Linked DNA regions of Homo sapiens: regions 2, 3 and 4 are each linked to region 1. Evidence: promoter capture Hi-C in 16 types of primary human blood cells and fetal thymus (Javierre and others, 2016). All regions are on one chromosome and are shown on one strand. The core of a region is centred on a gene start or on the middle of the fragment in contact, and the rest is flanking DNA. Distances in the headings are between cores, read along the strand shown.

Evidence for each region. The method cuts DNA at HindIII sites, captures the fragments that hold promoters and counts their contacts. A CHiCAGO score of 5 or more calls a contact.
Region 2: the fragment with the promoter of TRIM71 here is called in contact with the fragment with the promoter of CMTM7 in region 1 in 7 of 17 cell types (neutrophils, M2 macrophages, M0 macrophages and 4 more); the score reaches 8.3 in neutrophils.
Region 3: a contact is called between the fragment with the promoter of OSBPL10 here and the fragment with the promoter of CMTM7 in region 1, in 12 of 17 cell types (total B cells, activated CD4 T cells, fetal thymus and 9 more). The highest score is 17.7, in total B cells.
Region 4: a contact is called between the fragment with the promoter of GPD1L here and the fragment with the promoter of CMTM7 in region 1, in 17 of 17 cell types (activated CD4 T cells, fetal thymus, naive CD4 T cells and 14 more). The highest score is 33.7, in activated CD4 T cells.

What each region holds. Positions count from the first base shown.
Region 1 is chr3:32,388,804-32,395,092 of GRCh38, reverse strand. It overlaps CMTM7 (CKLF like MARVEL transmembrane domain containing 7), which reads right to left and starts at 3,240. Exons shown (of 5, transcript NM_138410.4): 1 at 3,028-3,240. The coding sequence starts at 3,186. The HindIII fragment of the contact is 6,143 bases long and covers 1-3,982 here.
Region 2 is chr3:32,814,537-32,820,825 of GRCh38, reverse strand. It overlaps TRIM71 (tripartite motif containing 71), which reads right to left and starts at 2,829. Exons shown (of 4, transcript NM_001039111.3): 1 at 1,894-2,829. The coding sequence starts at 2,745. RefSeq lists an enhancer at 1,788-2,369. The HindIII fragment of the contact is 10,738 bases long and covers 1-5,748 here.
Region 3 is chr3:31,977,792-31,984,080 of GRCh38, reverse strand. It overlaps OSBPL10 (oxysterol binding protein like 10), which reads left to right and starts at 2,819. Exons shown (of 12, transcript NM_017784.5): 1 at 2,819-3,182. The coding sequence starts at 2,902. ZNF860 (zinc finger protein 860) reads right to left here and starts at 2,331. Exons shown (of 2, transcript NM_001137674.3): 1 at 2,179-2,331. RefSeq lists a silencer at 3,060-3,129 and an enhancer at 4,684-4,733. The HindIII fragment of the contact is 3,310 bases long and covers 1,750-5,059 here.
Region 4 is chr3:32,103,536-32,109,824 of GRCh38, reverse strand. GPD1L (glycerol-3-phosphate dehydrogenase 1 like) reads right to left here and starts at 3,205. Exons shown (of 8, transcript NM_015141.4): 1 at 3,067-3,205. The coding sequence starts at 3,113. RefSeq lists silencers at 2,803-2,942, 3,063-3,472. The HindIII fragment of the contact is 2,757 bases long and covers 2,452-5,208 here.

The DNA of each region.
Region 1 (6,289 bases), core at 1,991-4,490:
GTTAAGGCTGCAGTAAGCCATGATAACACCACTGTCCTCCAGCCTGGGTGACAGAGCAAGACCCTCTCTGTCTCGCTCAAAAAAAAAAAAGTCATTTAGCCGAGCGCGGCAGCTCACACCTGTAATACCAGCGCTTTGGGAGGCAGAGGCGGGGGCGGATCATGAGGTCAAGAGATCAAGACCATCCTGGCCAACATGGTGAAACCCCATCTCTACTAAAAATACAAAAATTAGCTGGGTGTGGTGGCACGTGCCTGTAGTCCCAGCTACTCGTGAGGCTGAGACAGGAGATTTGATTGAACTCGGGAGGCAGAGGTTGCAGTGAGCTGAGATCGTTCCACTGCACTCCAGCCTGGTGACAGAGCAAGACTCCCTCTCAAGAAAGAAAGAAAAAAAAGAGTGCTTTAAAGTCAAAAGTCAAAACCTGTGACTGTGTCTCTACTCCAAAAAGGAAGACCAAAGAAACTGAATTATCATGGCCAGAGGATTATAAAAATTACACATGTATAAATGACATGTCAAGTACACACATTCACTCAGAAACTCATTTTCTAGTAATGGTGGACCCAGAAGAGGCCAAGACAAGGGAAGTCATTCTCCAGTGGAACAGCCTTTGCAATGATTTCTTAAGACAACGTGTTGGCAGATCTATTGATCAGATCATGATGAAAACATTTCATGAGAAGCTGAGGACAAAAGGGTCAACCTGTTCAGTATGAAACTGAGAAACTGATGGTCAAAATGAGAGACCCATAGAAAGAAAGCCCCAATGGGTGGCATTAATTTAGCTGCTTCTGCCCTTCCCCAATGTTAAAACTTGGCTAAACAAGCATTTTCCAGCAAAGAAGACAAATGAACCTCAAATGCCCAAGCAGAGTCTTAGAAAAGAGGAGAAGTGGGAAAATAGGGAGGAGTTAGATAAGAGGCCCAAGTAGATAGCCCTAACTAGGACTAATACAGCCATCCTGCAAGGGCAACTTTGCTCCCAGAGGGTCTGATCAAACAAGCCTGCAGCAGTGATGGGGAATCCTCCAGGGCAGGTGTAAGACTCCTCAGCATGGTTTTAAGAGGAGCACATAGAGAATAAGCAACCAGATAAAGAAATTATTCAAGTCTTTGTTCTCTTTTTTGGAACAACAGGCCCCACTCTTGCCACTTGCAAATTGGCCCAAGGACCACAGGCCAGAGGCTAGCTGAGGAGCTTAAGATGAGATGGAGATTTCTCATCTCCCAGTATCTTTATTCATCAAAATCATGGACCACATGAAGGCTTCTCATCTCCATTACCTTTTCTTTGTACCTTTTTTTTTTTTTTTTTTTGAGACAGGCCTCCCTCCGTCACGCAGACTAGTGCAGTGGCACAGTTCACTGACCTTCTCAGTTCAATCAATCCTCTCACCTCAGCCTCCCAAGTAACTGGGACTAGAGGCCCATGCCAACCACACAAGGTTTTAAAATTTTTTTTGTAGAGATGGGGTCTCGCTATGTTGCCGAGGTTTCATCTCCATTATGTTTGTGTACCAAACTCATAGACCAACAAGAAGACTTTTCATCCCACAATATCTTTGTCCAGCAAACTCAGGGGCCAAGATGGAGGCTTCTGATCCCATTCTCTGTCTACCAAACTCATCCCTTCCAATGCTCAGGTAGGATATGTCTCACCCCAGCCCATCTTTTAAGGATGGTGAGATGGGCTGGTCTCTTCTATTTGGCTGATCAAATCTCTTAGCCTGGGCCAAAAAATGCCCTGCTCAAACCCAACAATGCTCAGCACCAGATTTTTTTGTACGTTGCTGAAATGGCTCTTCCTAGTTTTTGGTCTATCTAGACACCGTTCTTAGGGAGGCAGGAACTCAGCGCCCCTTCTCTTTAGGTCTGGCCCAAGCAAGACATGAGGGCCACCTCATGCACACTCAGTGTCTGGAATGGCAGTGCTATAGATGCACAGACGTCCTGTGCCCAACCCCCTGGGGCCAGGCCACCTTAGCAGGCCCCAGCTTCTGGGTGTGTGACCTTGTCCAGCCCCACACTCCTTTCCCCACACCTCTTTTTGAAACTTACCGCTCCCCTCCCCACCGTTCTTGGTGCAAACATTACAATGGTGGAGACTCACAAACAGCCCAACCCAGTTTCAAAACACATCATACAAACGGAAAAGTTGTTTCAGATTACAAACTTTTAAAGAAGAAAAAAACGGGAGGGGAGAAAAGAAAAGAGTGGGGAACAAGAGAATCGGCCAGGCAACGTCTGCCCTGGTAGGAGGCCCTTGTGCTGAGTTGGTCACAATCCAAGCCCAGACACTCATCCTGCCTGGCTCCACGGGTGACTCCCATTCAACAGTCTGGCTCCCCTACATGAGTACCAGCCCCTGACAACAGGCCTTTCCCAACTGACCCCCTGCCCTCCAGAGCCCCCTGAGACCCGGGCCCTCCCTCGGAACTTGAGGGCGCAGGGGACCAGGACGGCCGTCTCAACGGTCCCAGTTCTTTTTCCCCACTATGGAACACAAGACCCTCTGACCTCCTCCTTCGAGCGAAACTGCACACAGAGCAGGGAAGCCCTGCCGCGCTGGGTTCGGAGGAAAGAGGAGGCCGTGGACGGGGAAGAGGTCGGGTTTCGCTCCCTCAGCGCCGCCGCCTGGGCGACTCTTCCACCCCCGGCTCGGGTTCGAAGCGGCGCGGCCCAGAGAAGAGGAAGAAAGACGAAAAGGAACTTTGCCCGTGGTTTCAGTCAGTAGGCGGGTCAGGCTTCGCAGGGGGGTGGCCGGAGAAACTTGCGACCCTGGCGACCTGGGTCCGCGGGAGCAAGGGCCGGGGCGGCTCTGGGGACTGAGCTCCAGCGCGGGGGCTGCGGCAGCAACTTTCCCGGAGGAAGCCTGCCGCGAACTTTAGCGACGCGGTGCCCCGCCCGCTGCGCGATGCTCCCTGGGCTCCGGCCGGGTCCAGACGCCCGGCGCGTCCGCTCCCGGACCCCTGCTTTCCCGGGACGCCCTGTAGAACCTCGGCCTCGCGCCCCGCGCTCACTTACCATTTGCGCCACTTTCAGCAGGGCCGCGTGGGTGCGGGGGTAGCTGAGGTCCAGCAGCCCCTCCAAGGGGCTCGCGCTGGGCTGGGCCGCGCCGGCCCCGGGTCCGAGCGCGCTGCCGCTGCTGCACGTGGTGCGGACGAGCCCGGCTCCGTGCGACATTGCGCGGCCCCAGCTCGCTGGCCGCCTCCCCGGGCAGCTGCCCAGGGGCCAGATACAGAGGGCGGGCCGGGGGCGGGCGGGGGCGGGCGCTGGCGAGGGCGGGGCGCCCGGGTCCCTGCCCCGCTGCTGGAGACGCGGAGCCGCCTCTGGCGGGATCCCTCCGGTGACTGGCCGGCCGGCGCCTTCCAGAAAGGTAGCGGCAGTCCCGGCCCTCGTAGATGCGCGGAAGTTAGACTGGAGCGAGAGGAAACCGGATGCCTTGGGTCGTGGCCTCTCCGAGGTGGGCAAGGCCCGGACCACAGCTGGTACTGAGCCTCCTGGGATTTTGTGTGGGTGCGGCTGCGGATGTGTGCTGAGAGCACTTTACTGAAGTTTAACTTACATAAAGTGTGATGCCCAGACCTTACGTGTTCAGCTCCACTAATTTTTATATATGTGTACACCTGTGTAACCGTCGCCCAGATCAACAAATAGAACGTGCCCATCACCCCAGAAAGTTCCGTGGTGGGCCTTCCTGACCTACCTTCCTTCCCTGGCCCCATCCTTATCCAGCCTCAGGCAACCACTACAGTGTATTCTGCTTTCTGTCACTGTAGGTTCATTTTGCCTGTTCTTGGACTTCATAAACTTGAAGTAATACAGAATATTCTCCTTCAACATAACAAATTAGAAGATCCATCCTGTTGGGAATATAAGTAGTTCATATCAGTTCCTTCCTTTTTATTGCTGAGTAGTACTCCACTGTGCAAAGATACCGTATTTTTTAAACGTTTACCCAGTTGATGGACACCAAGCTTGCTTCCTTCCTACCTGCTTGCCTGCCTCCTTCCCTCCTTCCGGCCTTTCCCCCCTCCCTCATCTCTTTTCTGGCTATAGTCACTATTATGGTACACGTTTTTTTGGTGGATACAAACTCTCATTTCTCTGGGACAAATATCTGCAAGTGAACGCACTGGTTACAAGGGGAGCATATGTTTGCTTCTGTTAGAAGCTGTCAGCCTGGGGAACATGGCCAGACCTCATTTCTACAAAAAACAAAAAATAAAAATAAATTAGCTGGGCCGGGCGCGGTGGCTCACGCCTGTAATTCCAGCACTTTGGGAGGCCGAGGCGGGCGGATCACGAGGTCAGGAGATCGAGACCATTCTGGCTAACACGGTGAAACCCCGTCTCTACTAAAAATACAAAAAATTAGCTGGGCGTGGTGGCGGGCGCCTGCAGTCACAGCTACTCGGGATGCTGAGAATGGCGTGAACCCGGGAGGCGGAGCTTGCAGTGAGCAGAGCTTGCGCCACTGCATTCGAGCCTGGGCGACAGAGCGAGACTCTGTCTCAAAATAAAAATAAAAATAAAAATAAATAAATAAATAAATTAGCTGGGTGCAGTGGCACATGCCTGTTCAGGAGGCTGAGTCTGGAGGAGCCTTGGAGCCCAGGAGGTTGAGGCTGCAGTGAGCCATGACAGTGGCATTGCACTCCAGCCTGGGCCACAGAGCAAGACCTTGTCTCAATTAAAAAAAAAAAAAAAGACAAGAAAAAGAAAAAGCTGTCAAACAGCTATCCAAGTGACATTCTATTCTGTATCCCTTTTGGGTTGTTTTAAAAATGAAGAGGCCAGGCGTGGTGGCTCACACCTATAATCCCAGCACTTTGGGAAGTCAAGGCATGAAGATCCCTGGAGGCCAGGAGTCCGAGATTGCAGTGAGCTATGATCTTGCCACCGCACTCTTGTCTGGGTGACAGAGTGAGACACTGTCTCTTAAAAAAAGAAAAAGAAAAAGAAAAGGAAAAAAACATAAAAATGAAGACAGGCCCAAACGGGACTACCAAAACGAGGTATGTTATCATGTTCCTTTTGAGCAGTGTCCCTGTGGCCATACTTACATTTATTCATTTGGAGATAACATCAAAAAATCTGGCTGGGCACGGTGGCTCATGTCTGTAATCCCAAAATCAAGCTCACAAGCCCAAGTTTGACACCAGCAAGGGCAACATGGAGAAACCCCATCTCTACAAAAAAATACAAAAATTAACTGGGCATGGTGGCACATGCCTGTAGTCCCAGCTACTCAGGAGGCTGAGGTGGGAGGATTGCTTGAGCCCGGGAGGTTGAAGCTGCAGTGAGTCATGATTACAACACTGTACTCCAGGCTGGGTGACAGAGCAAGACCCTGCCTCAAGAACAAAACAAAGCAAAGTGAAACATAAAACTATCTTTGTGAGTTTATTCCCTGCCAGTGCTGTCTTGTCATCAGAAGAGTTTTCGATGTGGCAAAGTCCTAATAATTCTTGTTGGTGGATGATACCCATGCAATATCTGTTTTGGCAAGTCTCTTAGGTGATTCTGATGCACACTCAAATTTGAGAACCACTGTCATTGCCAGAGTCCACTGCAGTTGAAACATTTGGGGATTTATTACACTATTTATTTCACCTTTATGTACATTTGACAATTTTCATGACCAAGAAAAATTGCCTTCCACGTGTGTCTTCTCTGTAGACAACAGTCACAGCTGCCTGGTACCTCCATTTGTTTCTCTGTAATTCAGGAATAATTGCATCTAGGGGCTGCTGTGACAATGTGATAGATATGCAGGTGTGCTGTGACATTTCTGGCTCTATACCCACAGGCATGAAGTTAGTACTGTGTATCATTTTTTTATGTAGATGTACATTTCACTTCTGTACTTGTCTAAGGCTTCAGGACCCACAGTGGAGATAACAGGGCATCTTTGTTGAGATGAGGGTTTCAGGGAAGCAGAAAAACCAAGTGCTGGATCATTTCTCCTTTGAGGGGCCTTTGTCCAATTCAGCAGTCTTCTAACAGTGATTTTCAGTGTATAGCCCCCCAACCAGCAGTACCTGCGAACTTGTGAGAAATGCAGATTCTAGGGGCCCACTCTGACCTGCTGAATCAGAAACTCTAGGGGTAGGGCTCAGCAGTGTGTGTCTTAACAAGTCTTCCCAACCCCACCCTCACTCCCCACCCCCCTTCACCATCATTCTGTGATTCTGATGCATACTCAAGTTTGAGAACAACTATCTCTTCCTGAGTCTGCTCAGAAACATTGCTGGGCTTTTCTGCCTGGTGTTGACTAATGCAC
Region 2 (6,289 bases), core at 1,580-4,079, 430 kb before region 1:
AAGAGCTTCCGAGTACCTCCCAGGGTGAGTGGAGAGCTTCACTTCTCAATTCACACTCCCCAATGCAGTTTGAAGGGTTTTCTAATTTTAAAAGTGAATAAATCTTTTACAAGTCTGCCAACACTGAGCATCTACTGTTTCAGCCCAAATAAAATATAGGTGTATCTTTAACTGGAAATATAAACTGACATTTAAACTAAAAGCACCTCTCAGAAGGGGAAACTCCTGGATTCAACCCCATTCTGCTCACCCTGCATTTGATCCCAAACTGCAAGTGAATTGGCTCCATTTTTCTGTTCCTGGGATTTGGATCGGTATTTACCTCAATCACTCATTTTTCTAAAAGTGATGAAAGAACATGAACCCACAGTATATTAAAACTAGGAGTCCATTCAAAGTTTAAAAACGGAAAAAAAAGATAACTGCCCCCTAGCTTCTTACCTAGAAGAAACCTTTTAAAAGGAGATGCCTACAACAAGTAGATTAGAATTTCAACTTTTTTCCAACAGGAGAAGCCAGCTAAAGGCCATCAGGCAATAGCTCCGCCCTCCTCCCCAAATAACAGGTTAGGAGTGGAAAAGGCAGCGGCGCTGGGCTCACCTTTGCGGTGCTCGGTACCCACTCTCCAGCTCACACAGGCCACGACCCCCACTATGGCTTTTAAAGCCTCTGCAGTCTCCAGCTTACGCTCTAAGTCAAGACTTTCACCCACACCCTCTCTTACCGGTCTACAGGTAGATCGCCTAAGTTACCGACCCCCTCGGCAAGAGCCCGCTTCTCAAGACTTTTGGCCTGCCTTCATTGGGTTCGGGGGAGAAGACGACACTCGCATAATACCAAAGTGGAAAGGAGAAAGGGGTCACACTGTGTGAAAAGCAAATGTTTACTCGACAGCCCAAAGGGCGAAATCGAGCCCGAGGGTTGCAATGTAGCCCTAAAAGCCTTTGCACTCCGGCGTTCCAGCAGCGTACGGCTGCCTTGGTCTTTTCCAAGGAAGTCGAGACCCTGGTTGAGCCGGGTGGATACCTCCTAACCAGGGAAACCGGTTCCTGTAGGGCTTGGAGTCGGGGCAGGCGGGCGCGGCCCAAGAGACTCAGGCTGGTGAAGGTAACGTCGTCCCTTTATTCCGCTTCTATCTCGGGGTGCAGCCGTGGGCCCACGAACGGCGATTTCACGCTAGGAGAATTCAGGGGCCAGAACACGCATTTTAAACAATATAGGAAGCAGCCGCAGAGAGAGAAGGGCTTAAGACTGGGGGCCCTTGGCCCTCAAAGATCCACAGACGCTCCCACTCTTACCCAACATAAGGAGGCAAGGACTGCCATGCTGTCCCAACAACAAAAAAACCAGTCTTCCCCTCACAAGTGCGCACGTGGAAACCAGGTCTACGGAGGCACACAAACTCCACGCACTCACCCACACAACCATCTCTTCCGGGCTCACGCCCCATTTTAAAGGCAACAATCTATGAGTTTTCCAAACAAAAATCTGAAAATAAAGGAGCGCCTTCTCAGCACGTTGGGAGGCCTCTGGTGTGCCCACAAGAGCAGGAGCAGGCCACGTCTACACAAACACACACACCTATCTCCTCCCAACTCACGCCTAACTCAAGACGATTGCCGCGTTTTGCCACACAGAAATTAAAATCAGAAAAGGGAGGACCCCACGCTATGGGATTTTTCGGAGCCCCTCGCGACACGTACACAGAATCCACTTCCACATACTTCCCAGGTCATGATCTACTTTGGTAGCAAGGACTGCCACGTAGCCAAAGGAAATACAAACCAAATCCGGAGAGGGCCTCCTCCCCTCGCTGTGGGACCGGCCGGGAAACGCTGTTGAGCACACACGCAGTTATCCGATGGACACAAACACACGCCCCCACGCACTCACCTCGTCGTCGTGGTGCTGGCAGAAGCCGAGGCGCTCGGGAAACACTGAGAGGATGGAGAAGGGCGGGCCGGGAAAGGGCGGCCCGAGCCCGAGCTGCTGCGCCGCTGCTGCGGCACCGGGACCCGGCGGGCCGCGCTCGATGTAGTGGTCCTTGGTGAGGCGCACGCGCTGGTGCGCTCGGACGCAGTTGTCGCACAGGTGCTCCTGGCAGTCGAGGCAGCGCGAAGAAGCTGCGTTGCCCTCATCGCACGAGCTGCAGCCGTGAGGACGGCGGAGCAGCAGCGCCGACGGGGAAGCGGCAGGGCCGCCGGGTGCCGAGCGGGAAGGCGCGGGCGGCTGCGGCGCCTGCGGGAGTGGCGGCGCGGAGGCGGACGCGCGCGGGTGCGCGTGGTGAGCGTGGTGCCGGTGGTTGCTGTGGCCGCCCGCTCCCGCCGGAGCGCCGGCGCGCCCGTTCTTGGGCGGCGGCTCGTCGGCAGTGGCCACCACCGCGTCGAGCAGGTTGCTAAGCAGGAAGGCGGACGAAGGCAGCGCGTCCATACCCGCCGCCTCGGCTAGCACTACTTTCTGGTCGCACACGGGGCAGCGCAGCTTGAGCGGCTCTCCCGCCGCGCCGCCGCCCGCCGCCGGCAGCCGGTGCGCCTCGAGGCAGGGGCGGCAGAAGGCGTGCAGGCAGGGCAGGACGTGTAGGCGGCGCGCCGCCGCCCCAGGGCCCCCGCCGCCGCCCCCCGACGACGTGGACGTCTGCGAGGAGGACGACGACGCGGACGAGTTGGAGGAGAGCGGCGCCGGCGAGCCGCACATCTCCTTGCACAGCAAGCAGATCTGGAAATCGGTCTCGGGGAACGAAGCCATTTGCAACCCAGCCCGGAGGAGGGAGGAGACCAGAGAGGAAGAGGAGGAGGAGGAGGAGAGAGCGGACGAGGTGGGTGGGGGAGTCACCGACTCACTCAGAAAAATGCATCGATTAGGCCTGCAATCCGGGAGCCGGCACCAGAGCAGCGCTGCCCGCTTGGCCTCGCCACGTCCGGCCCGAGCGCTGCCACCCCCGACACTGCAGGCATTAAATGCCACTATCCAGCGGCGACACAGATTCCTCCGGATAACTTGGGGGCCGCGTGCCTTCCGAAGAGGGAACGCCGGAACAAGCCCCGACAGGCGAGGGGCGAGCGGGGGCAGGGAGGTCGGAAGACTCCCTGGAGCAGCTGAGGCTTCCCTTCGCGATAGACGAAAGGAGTTCCCAAAAGGAGAGTTCGCTGTGCAGTCCCAGTCCCGGCGAGAGCAGAATTTGGTTCCACGAGTATTTGGTGCGTTGCTTTTCTTTAAACGGATTTAGTCTGTTCTTGGGAGGGGAAGGAGCCCCAAACTAGTAAAGGCGGGAGCGGTGCGTCGCCAAGCCGGTGTCTCCCCGCGCGACGTCGGCTGCCCCGCCGCATGACGCGGCGGCCAGGGGCTCCTGGGTGGCCCGGCGTGCTGCGCTTGGGGCTTGCGCACAGCCAGGCACGGCCTCCCCTGCAGGGCGGTGGGCCCCGCAGCAGCTGCAGCTCGTGGTGGCCCAGCCGCGGCCGCACGCGTGCAGTACGCACGCGCGTCCCACGCGCCTCGAGTCTTCCGCGCGCCTGCCCAGCCGGGCCGCGGCTGCCCGCGCTTAACACGCACGCGCGCCCCACGCGGCCCGGAGCCCTCGTGCCCCCGCCTCGCCTGGCCTGGGCGCCTCACGCACGCTCCTTCCCCTTCGGCTTAGCGCGCGGGGCCGCAGGTCCCCGCGGGCCGCCCTGAATTATTCATCGGCAGGAAGATATTAGATGTACCCGCTCCGCGCGGGCCGTCGTGCAATGCTATCCGAGCTCCGCGCGCGCCCTGCGCCCCTCCTCCTCCTCACGTCCGTCCTCTCTGAAACCTTGGCAGAGAAGGGGGATCACATTTCCTTTGTCATCGGGCCATTTCGCCCTCGCCTTGGTCCCCCCTCCGATCCCGAGCCTCGGGGATGGAGGCTCCTCTCGGGCGCGCTGGAATCAGTGGAACCGGCAACAGCCCCGCGCGGCGAGCTCGGGAGCCGCGTGGCCAACGCCGCCGGCTCGCGCCCGCGTCATCTTCTTTCTGAAAGGAGTCGCCGATCCGGACGCGGGTGGCCTCGGCCGCGCTGCGCCTACCGAGCTTTGCTCCCGCCGTGCCCCGGCCTCCTGGGGCTTTGCACAACTCCCCCAGTTCGGGTTGCGTGCGCGCGCGCGCGCCCCCTCTTTCTCTGCTTTGCCGCCTCTGCCTCCTCCTCCTCCTCCTCTTCTCTTCAGTACGCCGGTTATTGGGACTGATCGGAATTCGGAATCCTTTTAATCTCCAAAGGAGCAAACTCACTTCCGCCCGAGTGCTGGGAGGGGGCTGGGGGAGGGGAGGCAGGGGAGGGGGCTCCAGGCAAACAGGAAACATTAGCCCTCTCAGCACGGCCCGCTTTTGTGTGCTCCCTCCCTCCGCCCTCCAACCTCCTCCCTTCTCCCGGCCGCTGGGGAGATGAACGCCCCCGGGCTTCAGTGTGACGACCTTTGAAACCTTCTGAGCGAGGAGCAGAGAACGACTCTTCCGTTTATTTAAAAAAGAAAAGAAAAGATTTCATTCTGAATCCCTGGCTCAACCGAGACATATCCACTGCCCGGGAGATCTCGGTTTTTACCCACCTTTTCTTTTTTTCTTTTTACGTTTTTTAAAGAACTCTGCATATCTGATCACCAAAACATCACACGGTGGTGTGCAGTTGGATGCATGGAATTAAGCGAGTCTGAATTCTGATCGGCAGAGGGGCCAGAGTTCCCTTTTGAGTTTTAATGGGGCTGGGGGGAAGCAGGGGGCAGCTGTTCTGGGGAGGCGACCTGGTGATGGCCCCGCAGCCATCTGGGTGGTGCCCGAGGCCGCCTGAGCGGTTCTGGGAGAGGAACTTGCATGGCCCTGGAGAGAGACTCACTTGGAAGGGCAAGGAGGGCCACTTACCAGGATATAGGTAGTATCTGGCCTGGAGGCCAACGGGGTAAAAATTGTCCCCTTCTTAACACTATCTCGCTGTTAGTGATATCCTATTTAACCTGGTACAGGCAACAACCTGATGACTCAAAAACATCGTGTTGGGAGAGAGAAGCCAAACACAAAAGAGTTCATACTGTGTGATTCCATTTCCAGGAAATTCTAGAACAGAGAACTAAGCTATGGGGAGAGGAAAAGTACCCTTGGGGATGAGGAGGTATTGACTGGGAAAGGGCATGAAGGAACCTTCTGGGGTGGTGAAATAAAAATAGATTGCCGTGTATGTACATTTGTCAAAACTTATAAATGCCATTTAAGATCTATGCACGATTTCACTGTTTAAATTATACTTCGATAAGCAATTTAAAAAAACACCTCGGTGTCCAACCTGCATAACTATGCCTGGATCATAAAGATGGAGAAATTTAAAAATACACTACATGGACCTCCCCAGCTCCTCTGGTTTTGCTCATTGGAATCCATGGGAAAATCACCCTGGAAAAAGCCCTTAAATCAACCCAGCTGGACACATGTGCTGATGGCCCTAGGAAGCTGCAGAAGTACCTCTCCAAAAGGATGAAGCCGTCTTGGGGGCCAGGGTGCTGTCCTGAGATGGGAGCGTTTCCTAGGCTGAGGAAGAGCCTGGCAGCCCCACCGGGAATGCCTAAGCCCTCAGCTGCCCCCAGAGCTCCCTCCTTAGCACCTGGAGCAAAATGAACATCAGTGAACATTTTCTGAAATGTGTGAGGAGTGAAAAATTATTGATCAAATAAGACCAAAACAGAGCCCCTCCTTTGCCAAACGAAGAAGCAAACTTTGTATAATTTAAAAATTAAAGAGGAAGCTTCTCATGCCACCATCTCTTGCCTAAACAATGTATTTCTTCCATAATTTGAGACCTGTGTAGAAACATGAAATGCTCATATGAATCAATGCACTCCTATAATTTTTTACCATAATTTTCTACCATACTGGCCTTGCCATAGAGATGTTTCATGTAATTTTGTTTTGTTTCGTTTCTTTTCCTTTCTTTGATTGTTTTTCCTTCTTTTTTAAAAAACAAAAACAAGAGGAAAACAGATGGGGGAAGAGAATTGCCAGAAGGAAGATGGCCCCAGAGGGTCAGAAGAGGGATGGCCCAGACCTGCTGTCTCCCTCTTAGTTTGGCCCCACCCACCACCAAAAAAAGAAAGAAAGAAAAAGAAAAGAAAGATGACAAGGAAAAAAAACCTCAATCGTCCTCCTGGTCCTAAGACTCAACATGTATTTTGAAAACGAGTAGCAGAGGTGGTACTTCAGCTGAGCCATCACGGAGGAGCAGGAAGGCTGTAACTCCAGAAAGAGGAATCAAACTTGACAGCGGTTTGTGGGTTTGTTTCCTGGGGAC
Region 3 (6,289 bases), core at 1,570-4,069, 410 kb after region 1:
GGGTGACAGAGCGAGACTCCAGTCTCAAAACAAAAACAAAAACAAAAACAAAAAAAACCCCTTAGGCTCTGAATTTTCAGGGAGATTGATTTGAGTAATAATACACTCCTGTGCTCCAGCTTGGCTGGCCCTACAATTGTTAAACTCTTCCTCTATTGCAAAAACCTGCATTGGCTTTTCCGGGTAACAAGCAAGATGAAACTGTTGGGCATTACAGTATGTATTTCAAATACTTTTTGCCAACTTATTATGTATTTTCCAAATTGTTTTTCAAACATAAAGACTTTTTCCTCTCCAAACATAATTCTGCAGGTACCTTTTCCCTATTTGCTATACTACGGTAGGTCAAGGAAAGCTTTCTGGAAGAAGTGACTTGTAATCCATAACTCCATGGGTGAGAAACACAAACCGGGTGAAGAGAGCAGGGAACAGTGTCACCAGCAGGAGGAACAGCATGTGCTTCATCACTCTTTCATGATATAGCCTCTACTTTCAGCACATCTGCTCCACTCACCTCTTGGACATTTTTGATCCCATACGGCTGGCTTGCTCCTGCCCCATCCTGGCCTTGACTATTCCTTTTAGCTTAGTTCCTTCCCCACTTGAACTGGTCTATCTCAAGGGTCTAATTTTTTAGTCCAAGGTGAGAATTTGTTGTGCTAGCTCATTCAGTCTTAGGTTGGCTGCATAAGGTGGAGTAATGGTGGCATAGGTTAGGTAATATGAAATAAAATGACACTTCTCCTCTTTTAGCAGGAGCTTAAGGTGGCAGTCTCCAATAAAAGGCATGTTGTTTTGGTACATAATGCTGACATTTATAGTCCAGTATGCACCTACCTTCCCACCTTCAGTCTGTATGTCAATGCAGGACTCAATGAACACTCATATATGATCAGTAAGTTAGCTTAGGCAAAGCTATGCTGTGGTAAAAAATAATGCTAAAATCTCAATGGCTTCAAACAAACATTTTGTGCATGTTACATGGCCAACACTAACTGGCTTAGGATCTGCTGTATTCCACACCTTCTCACTCCAGGACACAAGCTTAAGGAGAGTCCTTATCCGGGACATGCTGCTCTCCTGGGATAAGGAAAAGAGAAAGATGGTGGAACCATATGACTGCTCTTAAAGCTTATGTTTGGAAGGGGCATTCATTACTTCTGTTCACATTCCATTGCTCAAAGCAATTCCATGGCCAAGCCTAAGGTCCATGTGGAGGAAGGATACTCTTTCCATAGGAAGCGGCAGTAAATATTTTGAACAAATGAACATTCTTGCATAGTTTATTACAGCCGGTATCATTTGTCCCATTTTGCAGTGAGAAAACTAAGGCTAAAAGAGGTAATTTGATCAAGGTCATAGGTTAGAATTCAGCTCTGAATGGCTTCAAATTTGGTCCAGGCAAGCTCTTTTCAGATTTTTTTTTTTTTAACACTATGTAGGCACCTGGAATTGTAATTTACTCAGGGGCACAACCACTTCTCTTCAACTCCAGAAGCTTCTCCGTGCATCTCTAGAGCTAAACCACCCATGAAATCTTCCTGGAAGGATGTGAAGCTAGAAAGGGGTTGGGCTCGGGGAACTGTCCCTTTGAGAGCTGACTTTTCCATTTAGTAATTTTTTTTAACTCTTGAAGTATTTATCTGCTTGATGGGTTTGTAGATCCTTTGGACGGAGATCACCTATCATCTATCACCTTTTGTTTTGTCTGTGTGTGTGTGAGAGAGAGAGTCTGAGTTCCTCAAAGCTTTTTTCTAGGTAATTTTTGATACTTCAGATTACAATGGATATCTATATTCACAAAAAATATTAGTGGGATAGAAAGAGTATCTTTAGGTAGGAAGAGGGGCGCAGAAGTTACAGCCAACACAGAGAATCCTTCAATGTTTGTAAATATCTGTTAATTTCCCTTGCCTCTGGAGCAGTTTTCCCGGTTTCAGAGCCTCTGCTCCTAGGTGCACGTGCAGTGTGGTAGCAATGGATAGGTTTTGACTTGCCAGGTTTATGCGTGCCATTCAGGGCAGGGGATTAGGGTTAGGCCAGTGAGTGACCTAGGACACTCAATTTAAGGAAGCACTCGCACAAACCTGAGAGTTCGCGCGCCTCACCCCAGCCCAGCCGTGTGTCTGTTAAGCATTTATCATAATCCTGCTGCATGAAAATGCCCGGCGAGCTTACCTGTGAGGATCACCTGCCACTCCCCTCCTCCGCCAGACAACGCGGAGGGCCTCCCTGAGCTGTGACTTTGCTCCGCCGGTGATAATTTCCAGGTTACTGTGTAGGAGCGTCTGGCGCAGCATCGTGTGCGGAAGACCGAGAGAGGGAGTGTGCGTGTGAGCCTGTCAGGCCGGGCGGGTCCATATCCGGGTGGACCGGGTGGGTGGGGCTGCCCCTCCCTCCAGGTCCCGAGGTGGATAAGGGGTGGGGAGTGACGTGCAGAGATTCCCTTTCGCCCCTTCGGATCCAAGAGAGGGTGGCAGAAGGAATGCGTGGGTGACTTGGCGTGGATTTAGGGCGTGCCCACCCTGCAGATCGGCCTCCTAGAGTGTCCCGAGGGCCTGAGAGGCCGCAGGGACACGAAGGAAGAGAAGGAGGAACCCGAAGAGGGCTCGCCTAGCCGGCCACCCGCTCCGAACTTGCCCGGGAAACTAGTGCGGAGGGAGGGGCCGGGCCCTGGCCGCGGCGGGAGGAGGGGCGGCCGCAGCTGCATCCAGCCCCGTTGGCTTCCTTCCCAGCTCTCCTTCGCCTCCTCCTCCTCTTCCTCCTGTATGAGTCAGGCATTTCCCGGGGATTTGGAGCAGGCACGCGCGGCCCGGGCGTCCGGAGCTGTAGCAGCAGCAGCAGCCGCCGTGCCGGGGCCGCCACCGCGGCGGGCACCCGCGTCCCGGGCGCCCACGGACCATGGAGAGGGCAGTCCAGGGCACAGACGGCGGCGGGGGTAGCAACAGCAGCAGCCGCAGCAGCAGCCGTGCTACCTCGGCGGGCTCCTCGCCCTCCTGCTCTCTGGCGGGCCGGGGGGTCTCCAGCCGGTCGGCGGCGGCCGGGCTCGGCGGCGGGGGAAGCCGCAGCAGCCCGGGCTCTGTGGCCGCTAGCCCGTCCGGGGGAGGCGGCCGCAGGAGGGAGCCGGCGCTCGAGGGCGTGCTCAGCAAATACACCAACCTCCTCCAGGGCTGGCAGAACAGGTAACGCGCCAGCCGCCCGCGCCACCGCGCGCCGCTGTGTGTGTGTGTGTGTGTGTGCGTGCGTGTGTGTATGTGTGTCTGTGTATGTGTGTGCGCGCGCGATTGTGCCTTCAGCGAACCCAGTGATGCCTCCCAACGGTGCCCTTCCTGCGTCCCTGCTCCCCTCCAGGTGGGGTTCTCAGGATGGGGCGCGCCGTGGCTCCACCCCGGGACCGCACCGCAGTGGCGGGGAGGGAGGCGAGAGCCCTGGTTTTCTTCTATGCTGGCACCTGCAGAGACTGGAGTGGTGGCAGGAGGATCGTGCTGGTCCCCGTGCTCTGCTTGTCCGCGGTTTCCCGCACGCCTGAAGAATGACTGGGAAAGGGAGGCAGAAGGGGCGTGCTTTGTGCCGGGGTGAAAAAGCGTTAGCACGTCCGCTCCGATTACAGTAATTCTCTAAGTAACAGTTCATTTTAAAGTTTGGTGTTTCAGAACACCACCACCATCAACAAAAAACCTGCCACTTGTCATCCTGGGCGACTGTGCATACTCCTGCCCCAGTTTGTGCCTTGCAGCCTCCGATGTTTGTAATGGAAGTTTTGTTTAAAAACAGAAAGAGGCCGGGCGCGGTGGCTCACCTCTGTAATCCCAGTACTTTGGGAGGCCGAGGCGGGCAGATCACGAAGTCAGGAGTTCGAGACCAGCCTCGCCAACATGGTGAAAACCCGTCTCTACTAAAAACAAAAAAAATTAGCCGGGCGTGGCGGCGCGCCTGTAATTCCAGCTACTCCGGAGGCTGAGGCAGGAGAATCGCTTGAACCCCGGAGGCAGAGGTTGCAGTGAGCCGAGATCGCGCCATTGCAATCTAGCCGGGGCGACAGTGCGAGACTCCGACTCAAAAAAAATAAATAAATAAAATAAAATAAAATAAAATAATAAAAAGAAAGAAAAAATACCCTCCCCCTTTTAATATTAGTAGCAATTTACATTATTATCATTATTTCCTCTTCAGGTCCCATTTGAAGTTTCCTGCTCACTTCCCCCTTGCAGTTGAGAAGCCTAGTTATGGACACGTGGAAGGATGGGGCTGTCGAGGAAAGGGGCTCAGGAGGCACTTGGAATGGTGGTAGTGTGTGTGATCTGCCATCGTGAGGAAGACAAGAACAGATGTGGCACTACTGTTTACTTTTTGTTTTTGTTTTTTTTTTCAATTTGTTTTCCAAAAACAAGCCAGAGGGAAATACAAGTGTCAGTGCGAGGAGAACAATGCTTTTTGGAGAGGTGGTTGGTGGGATATTTTGTCCTGCCTATTTAACAGTCTCCAGATCTTAATAGACTTGGGGCTCTTAAGGATGTTTGTGAGATTTGAATTATACCCTGGAAAGTTGCTTATCTCTGCTGCATGGACTATATTACTTGGTTATCTCTTCCTGTAGATTGTTTGGAAATGTTCAGATTTGCTTCCATCTGAAACATATCAGCCAGTTATCTGCACGAAACTCAACTTGGAGGAAGAGGTCTTTTGAAGTATGGAAACTGAGTTGTTTCTATATTGATATTCTACATATAGGACTTTCTGAGTCACCTGGGCTTCCTGGGAGATGTGTTACTATGTTAGTGGAAGTTGCACTTAACTTTTGAATCCTTTTATTTCTCAAAATAGTCCTAGTGTCTGCTGTTGCCTCTCCCTTCCCCTTTCAATTCGTGAAAGCTGAAAAAGAATAGGTAGAATGCGTAGGTAGAGGGAGATATGAGATGACTAAATCTGATTTCAGTTCTTGGTAATTATGTCTCGTTAATGGCAACTCAAGGTGCCTTGTCAGTAACAGCATTTTGTTGGTGTGTTGAGCAATCACTTAATGCTTTTTCTTCAAGTAGATTATGAGGCCAGCAAAGCTTTTACCCTGGATTACAGTTATTTTATTATTTACTTGCTGGGGAACAATATTTTACCTTGCAGTCTGTATTAAAGGATTTGTTATTTGGAGTGGATTTAGGAGGCATTGGAGTAACATTCTTTTGCATTATTTTAAACCCATTGTGGTGTTTAGATTGGAGGCAAGGTTGAGAAGAAGCACATTTAATGCCAATAATAATACCTACGTGATAGCAGGCTACCTAGGTGAAATGTGGTATTAAGTACACTCCTGAGCATGCTTAAGTGATGTCTCATCTTTATTGAGTTTGTTTACTGCAATTTATAGCTGTCTGCCTATGTTTGTTCTTACCACAGTAGACTCACCGTTTTCCAAGTCTACCACTGACTCCATAAGCATCGTCTGTAATTGTTAACATCTCAGTGTCAGGGTTTCTATTTCCCACATTTTGTTCTTTGAACGATGGCTGAGGGTCCATTAGTGGTTTGGAGAAGATTACGATGACTCTGTGCTTGCAAAATTCTCCCTTCTCTAGGGGTCTTATGAAGGGACAGATGGATTAGTGAAAAGGAAGAGAGAAGAGGATAAAAATAGAAACTTTGAAAATGTATTCATTTGTTCAATTATCTATTCACAGACTGTTTTATTGAGCACCTACTATGTGGCAGGAACTGTTCTAGGAGCTGGAGCTACCACCCTTCCCTGGTCCAGGGAAATGCCTTAGTACAAATAGTTAGCCAACTGATTCCTGCTGCCTTTCTTTCTGGGCCTCATAGCATCTTCCTTTGGCAGTTCTTTTCAAAGTGCCCACAGTTAATGACAAATCTATAGCAACCAAGTTCTTGGTTCATCCTCTCAGGCTGCTGTGCAATTGTAGTGCTCTTCACCAGCTCCCAGGACTTAATACCAATCACCCACTAACAGTTTGTACCCTGGTGTCCTCTTGCATGTTCTCAAGTTGCTGTAAAACTTATATTTTAACACTTGGCATCATATTCTGCCTTTATTTGTAGCCTCATCCTCATGCCCTTAGGAAGGCAGTTTGGGCCAGAACACAAAATAAACGACATAAAGAGAGGTCACAGAGAAGAACACTGTATGATGGGAACGTGCTCAACTCAGGAGAGTAAGTTCAGGACATTTGGCTCACACTCACTGGATGAGAATGTGAAATACTTAGAGTATGGGGAAAACATGCATTAAGGGCTTTCTGTCATTCATTATTATAGATATTTAAAGAAAATATTTCAG
Region 4 (6,289 bases), core at 1,956-4,455, 290 kb after region 1:
GATCTCAGACCTGAAGGTAAGTTGTTTAAGGACCGGGACTGTGTCCAGCTGTGTCTGCATCCCTGGTCAGACCACAGTCTCTTCACCGGGCAACACTCAAATGTCTACTGACTAGAGCTGAACACTCCTCTGGGGCTTCTCCATGTTGTTTTCAGTTTCTGAGTTCCTGAATCCCTCTGGGGAGGTTGTGATCCTCTCTCTAGGACTGGAGTAACTCTGTACCCAAGGCAGTGGCACAGAAGCCAAGAATTGTTCCCGTCTAATCCCATAATTAATGAAGCCAGGCAGCCAGCCCAAACCATCAGCACATTTCTCAATTGCTCTGCTTCAGTATCACTGGCCAAGTTCTACTCCATTTCCCTGGGCTGGAGTGGGCCAAGGAAACAGTCAAGTACACCAGAATGAAGAAGCCACGGGCAGGCAGCCAAATCCCAGCAGAGGGGGCAGGAGGCTCACTTCACTACTCTTGCTCCAGGCCCAGTTCCAGCATGGCAGAGCTGTGCTACTTGTCCTGCATCTTGCAAATTAGGAAAAGGGGCTGTCATCTGTGGAATTGTACAGACTAAAAAACTAATGTTAAAAAAACATGTGCTAAATGGGTGCCTTTCAAGTGGCATGGCCAACAGGGGAGCTGACACTGCACTCAAGTGAGCTTGACATTAAAACTGGCAAAGCCGGCCGGGTACGGTGGTTCATGCCTGTAATCCCAGCACTTTGGGAGGAAGAGGCAGGCGGATCATGAGGTCAGGAGATTGAGACCATCCTGGCTAACATGGTGAAACCCCGTCTCTACTAAGAATACAAAAAATTAGCCAGGCATGGTGGCGGATGCCTGTAGTCCCAGCTACTCAGGAGGCTGAGGCAGGAGAATGGCATGAACCCAGGAAGCGGAGCTTGCAGTGAGCAGAGATCGCGCCACTGCACTCCAGCCTGGGCGACAGAGGGAGACTCCGTCTAAAAAAATAGTAATAAAAAAAAACAACTGGCAAAGCCAAGCTGAAAGTCCAAATTAAGCTTTGCAGCAGCAAGCTACCAACTCTATTAAATATTGTGTAGAACATTCTGTTGTTGGTTGAAAAATGCAGCTCACAGAAAAGTATGCAATACCCTAGTATTTGCAGCGTGGAGGGCGAAAGGACTATATGTAAGCATTCACTTGCATGGAATTCCTCCAGAAAGGACAGAAGTAATTCATAACACTGGTTTTCCTCCAGGAGGTACTCAGGGGGGATAAATGTGGATGGGTGATGTTTCACTGTTTTTGGTACTCTTTGGTTTTTGTTTTTTATTTTTTGTTTTGTTTTGTTCTTTTGAGACAGGGTTTCACTCCCTTCACACAGACTAGAGTACGATGGTGCAATCTGATTTTGGCTCACTGCAACCTCTGCCTCCCAGGCTCAGGCGATTCTGCTGCCTTAGCATCCCAAGTAGCCGGGACTACAGGCGCCTGCCACCACACCTGGCTAATTTTTTGTATTTTCAGTAGAGACGGGGTTTCACCGTGGTCTCAATCTCCTGACCTCGTGATCCCCCTGCCTCAGCCTCCCAAAGTGCTGGGATTACAAGCGTGAGCCACCATGCCCGACTAATATTTTATTTTTTGTAGAGGCGGGGTTTTGCCGTGTTGCCCAGGCTAGTCTCAAACTCCTGGGCCCACCTCAGCCTCCCAAAGTGCTGGGATTACAGGCATAAGCTACTGCGCCCAGCCCTGGTTGTTAAACAATGTGAATGTATTATTCAATCAAATATCATTATGGTTTTAAAAATTAGTTTTTAGGCAGGGAGCGGTGGCTCACACCTGTAATCCCAGCTACTCAAGTGGATGAGGCACAAGAATCGCTTGAATCCAGGAGGTGGAGGTTGCAGTGAGCCAAGATCGCACCACTGCAACAGAGTCTTAGTATTGACTTAGCATATGCCAGGCACTAGGGTAGATGCCATTCTCAAAAGTTGGGAGACAGATAATCAAATAACTCCTTATAATGCAGTGATGCAGGCCAGCAATAGGGACACAGAGAGAGGCCACTGGCCTTGCTGGGATGGAAAAGTGAAGAACCAGGTAAGGTTTCCTTCAATAAGTACTTTCTGGGCCAAGTCTTGAAAGAGTAAAACTAAGACCAACTACCTAGGACCAGCTGCTGCAGCACTTCTGATGCCTGTCACGCCACAGAAAAACCGGTAAACAGAAGCACTGAAAGGACATCATCACTCTTAACTATTGTACACCAGTCCCTCCAATGTGGCAGAGTGTACAGCAATGAAAAAAGGCTTGGAAACACCAGATGCTACACTTTGCTTCCTTCCCCCTTCACACCCCCACCTCTACATTCACCCAAACACACCAGAGAATCCCACAGTGTACGTTTGATTAAGGGTACTAGAAGAACTGACATTTCTAATGTGCTCTATAAAATGTTAAAGTCAAATAAGGCCCCAAAGAGACGCAAAGCTTCGCAAACATCTCGGCAAGGGAGAATTCTCAACGCCTCAGGGAGAGCGGCCTGTTGAAACTTGGATTTTCTTCCTGATACGACGCGCCTAAGATAGTGGACCTATCAGAAGCGGGGGCGAGACGGGCACCTTGAAGGGCAGAGCATGCCCCGCCCGTGACCTGGGCAGCAAGAGCCCTTTAGCCCTCTCCGCCTCGGTTTCCTCAACACCGAAACTGCAGTAAGAATGCTCGAGCCTCCACCAAGTCCTTGACCCAGGAGATCCGCCGTGGAGAACGGAATACGCCCTTAGGATATTGTGCAAAACACCCAGGCGTGGCAAGCAGGTGGCTTCTGTGCGCTCAGTAACGGGGGCGCAGACAGGTGCCCGCGTGCTCGGGGTGCCCTCTCTCCGCGCTGTCCCCCGCACGCACGCGAGCCCAGCGCCTCCCGAGCGAGTGCCCCGGTGCGGCCTCCTCGGGCGCACGGTGCCCAGCCCAGCAACGAGGTCGCCCACCCCGCCTCCCTGCGCGCAGTGCCCGGTGCCCACGCCGCAGCATGGGGCGCGCAGCCCTCACCGCCCGGGAGAGGCGCTTCCTGGAAGCGGAGCCCCGGCCTCCAGCCCGCCGCCGCTCACCAGTTCCCCGAGCCCACGATGCACACTTTCAGGGGCGCCGCTGCCATGGCCGGGCCGAATGTAGCCGCCTGGACCGTGCTTCCCTGGCCGGCTGCCCACCTCCGCCTGTTCAGCCTTGCCCGCAGCGGCTGGCGGCGGCCCCGCCCCTTTCGCCTCTCCGCCAATGGTCGCGGCCACCCCCGCCCGGCGCCGGGGGCCGCAGCTGACAGCGGGGCAGGACCCGCTTCGCCACTCCCAAGAACCACTGCGCACGCCTGGCCCCGGCCGGCCTCCAGGCCCGGCTCCGGCACCGCCCCGCCCTGCCCGAGGCACGTCGGGACATGTAGTCCTCACCCCCCGTCGCTGCGCGGCCCTAGGCAGCAGCTCCCGCCGCGCCACATGCAGGCCCAGGCCACTGAGCAGCGACTCGCGCCCCTGGTTCCCGGTGGAGGCTGCACTCCATCCTCATGGGTGGAGCAGACCCAACCAGCTTGCCGTGGTGCCCCCTACACGCTCCTTTTTCCCTACTCGGGAAGGGCTGCCACATTGCCATTTGGAGCCGAGAGAGGCTCCTAGGTTGACTCTCAAGCCGACCAGACTTGGGGCAGAGCTCGAAATGCCCACCCGACCTTGTCATCCTCTGTTTCATTTGCACAAACAAGACACAGCCTGGCACCTCTGAACTTCTTAGAGAACTTGGATCTTCAGAGGACTTTGGAATTTGGCTGAACAGTACCTGCATTTCAAGGATGACACCTTTTCTAGTTAGAGTCAAGATAGAAACTTGACCTGGTGCAGTGGCTCACACCTGTAATCCCAGCACTTTTGGAGGCCGAGTCAGGAAGATCACTTGAGCCCAGGAGTTCGAGACCAGCCTGAGCAACATAATTAGGACCCCCCACCCCTCTGTACAAAAATTTAAAAAATTAGCCAAGCATGGTGGCACGCACCTATAGTCCTAGCTACTCAGGAGGCTGAGGCGGGAGAATTGCATGTGCCCAGGAGGTCGAGGCTTCAGTGAGCCAGGATAGGGCCACTGCACTCCAGACTGAAGGACAGTGAGACCCTGTCTCAACAAAAAATAAATACATAAAAATAAAGGGAAAAAGGTAACAACAGCTTGCATTCAGTGGGTGTCACCCTCACACGCTTACTTGGCAGGAATTGCTTTACCATTGTCTTTGCCCAGGGCCTGACTTATCCCTTGCTTGTGGTTTGTTTGCATTTGTGAGTAACACAATGCTCTCCTCCTTGACAAATAGAATCTTAGTTTGTTCATTCTGAGCATCAGTCTCTGCCAGGCACTGTGCTAGACGCTGTCAGAGTAGGACAAAGTCCTTTAAACCAGTGGTTCTCAAACTCTGCTGCATATTAGTCACTGGGGCTTTTAAAAATCCCCATGCCCAGACACCATTGCAGGCCAGTTACATCAGAATGTCCCATGGTGGGATCCAGGCATCAGGATATTTACTTATTGACATATATTTTTTGAGACAGTCTCCTTCTGTTGCCCAGGCTGGAGCAGAATTTTTTAAAGTTCAAGAGGTAGTTGCAAAAGCAAGCCAAGATTGAGAACCAGAAGACTAAAATATCAGTGGATTCTGGCTAAAGAAACAAATACTCTAGTACCTACAAAAAACTAAGCCTAGGCCGGGTGCCGTGGCTCACGCCTATAACCCCAGCACTTCAGGAGGTCGAGGCAGGCAGTTCACCTGAGGTCAGGAGATGGAGACTAGTCTGCCCAACTTGGCAAAACCCCGTCTCTACTGAAAATACAAAAAATTAGCCAGGCATGGTGGCAGATGCCTGTAATCCCAGCTACTCAGGAGGCTGAGACAGGAGAATCTCTTGAACCTGGGAGGCGGAGGTTGCAGTGAGCCGAGATCTTGCCTGGGCGACAAGAGCGACACTCCGTTTCAAAAAAATGATAGTAATACTAAGCCTATTAGTTTGATGCTCAGAGAACTGTTATTTTTGCTTTTTTCTCTACATTGTATGAAATATTTATTTGTGTTACTTATGATATTTACTTAAGGAAATACTTAAAGGGAGCTGGTGAGTCAGAGCAGTCTTTCCATCCCCTCACCAATGGTTTGTTCTCAATTATTTGCACTAATGCAAGGATACATGCAGGGATAATGGGAAAGATGGACTAGTAAAGCTTTATTAATCCTTTCTGTATTTGTGTAACAGAACGCATTTGTCAAATTGAATAATGAAGTCATGTCCTTGGGTAGTACACATACACTGCAAATATTTATGTTATCTAACTGAACTAGGGTCCCTTCACCTGACACAGTAAGGCCAAATACCCACACCAAGGTTTGCAGAGGGAGAAAGAAGGGTGTTTATCTGTAGGGTACCAAGCAAGGAGAATCAGGTAGCTCCTCCTTGATGGCTGGCAAGTAAGGGTTTTTAAAGGCAGCTGGGGGCCAGGCGCGGTGGCTCACACCTGTAATCTCAACACTTTGGGAGGCCGGGGTGGGAAGATTGCTTGAGCTCAGGAGTTCAAGACCAGGCTGGATAACACATACCGTGTCTCTACAAAAAATTAAAATTAGCTGGGTGTCCCAGCTAGTCGGAATAGGCTGAGATGAGGGGATTACTTGAGCCTAGGAGGTCGAGGTTGCAGTGAACTGTAATTGTGCCACTGCACTCCAGCCTGAATGAAAGAGCAAGACCCTGTCTCAAAAATAAAAAGTAAAATAAAGGTGCGTGGGGCAGAGGTTACAGGCAAAGTCATAAATCAATACATGGAGCTACACATTGGTTTGACCTAAAAAAGCAGGACATCTCAAAGTGGGGGAGGGGGACCCACAGGTCATAGGTGAATCAGAGATTTTCTTTTTTGCAATTGGTTAAGGAACTTTAGACAAAGCTTTGTCTAAAAATTTGGGGTCAGTAGAAAAGAACGTTAGTTCTCAGCCTGGGCAGTATAGGGAGACCCCATCTCTACAAAAATAATTTAAAAATTAGCTGACCATGCTGGCACAGACCTGTGGTTCTAGCTACTTGGGAGACTGAGGTGGGAGGATTGCTTGGGCCTGGAAGGTGGAGGTTGCAGTGAGCCATGATTGTGCCACTGCACTCCAGCCTGGGCAACAGAGTGATACACTGTCTCCAAAAAGAAAAAATAAAAGAAAAAAAAAGAATGTTAGTTCTGATTTGCAGACATGACTTTCAGGCCCCTCTGAAAGACGTTGAAGAACAGTGGTCAGAGTTCAATCCTCAGTTCCTCCTTATC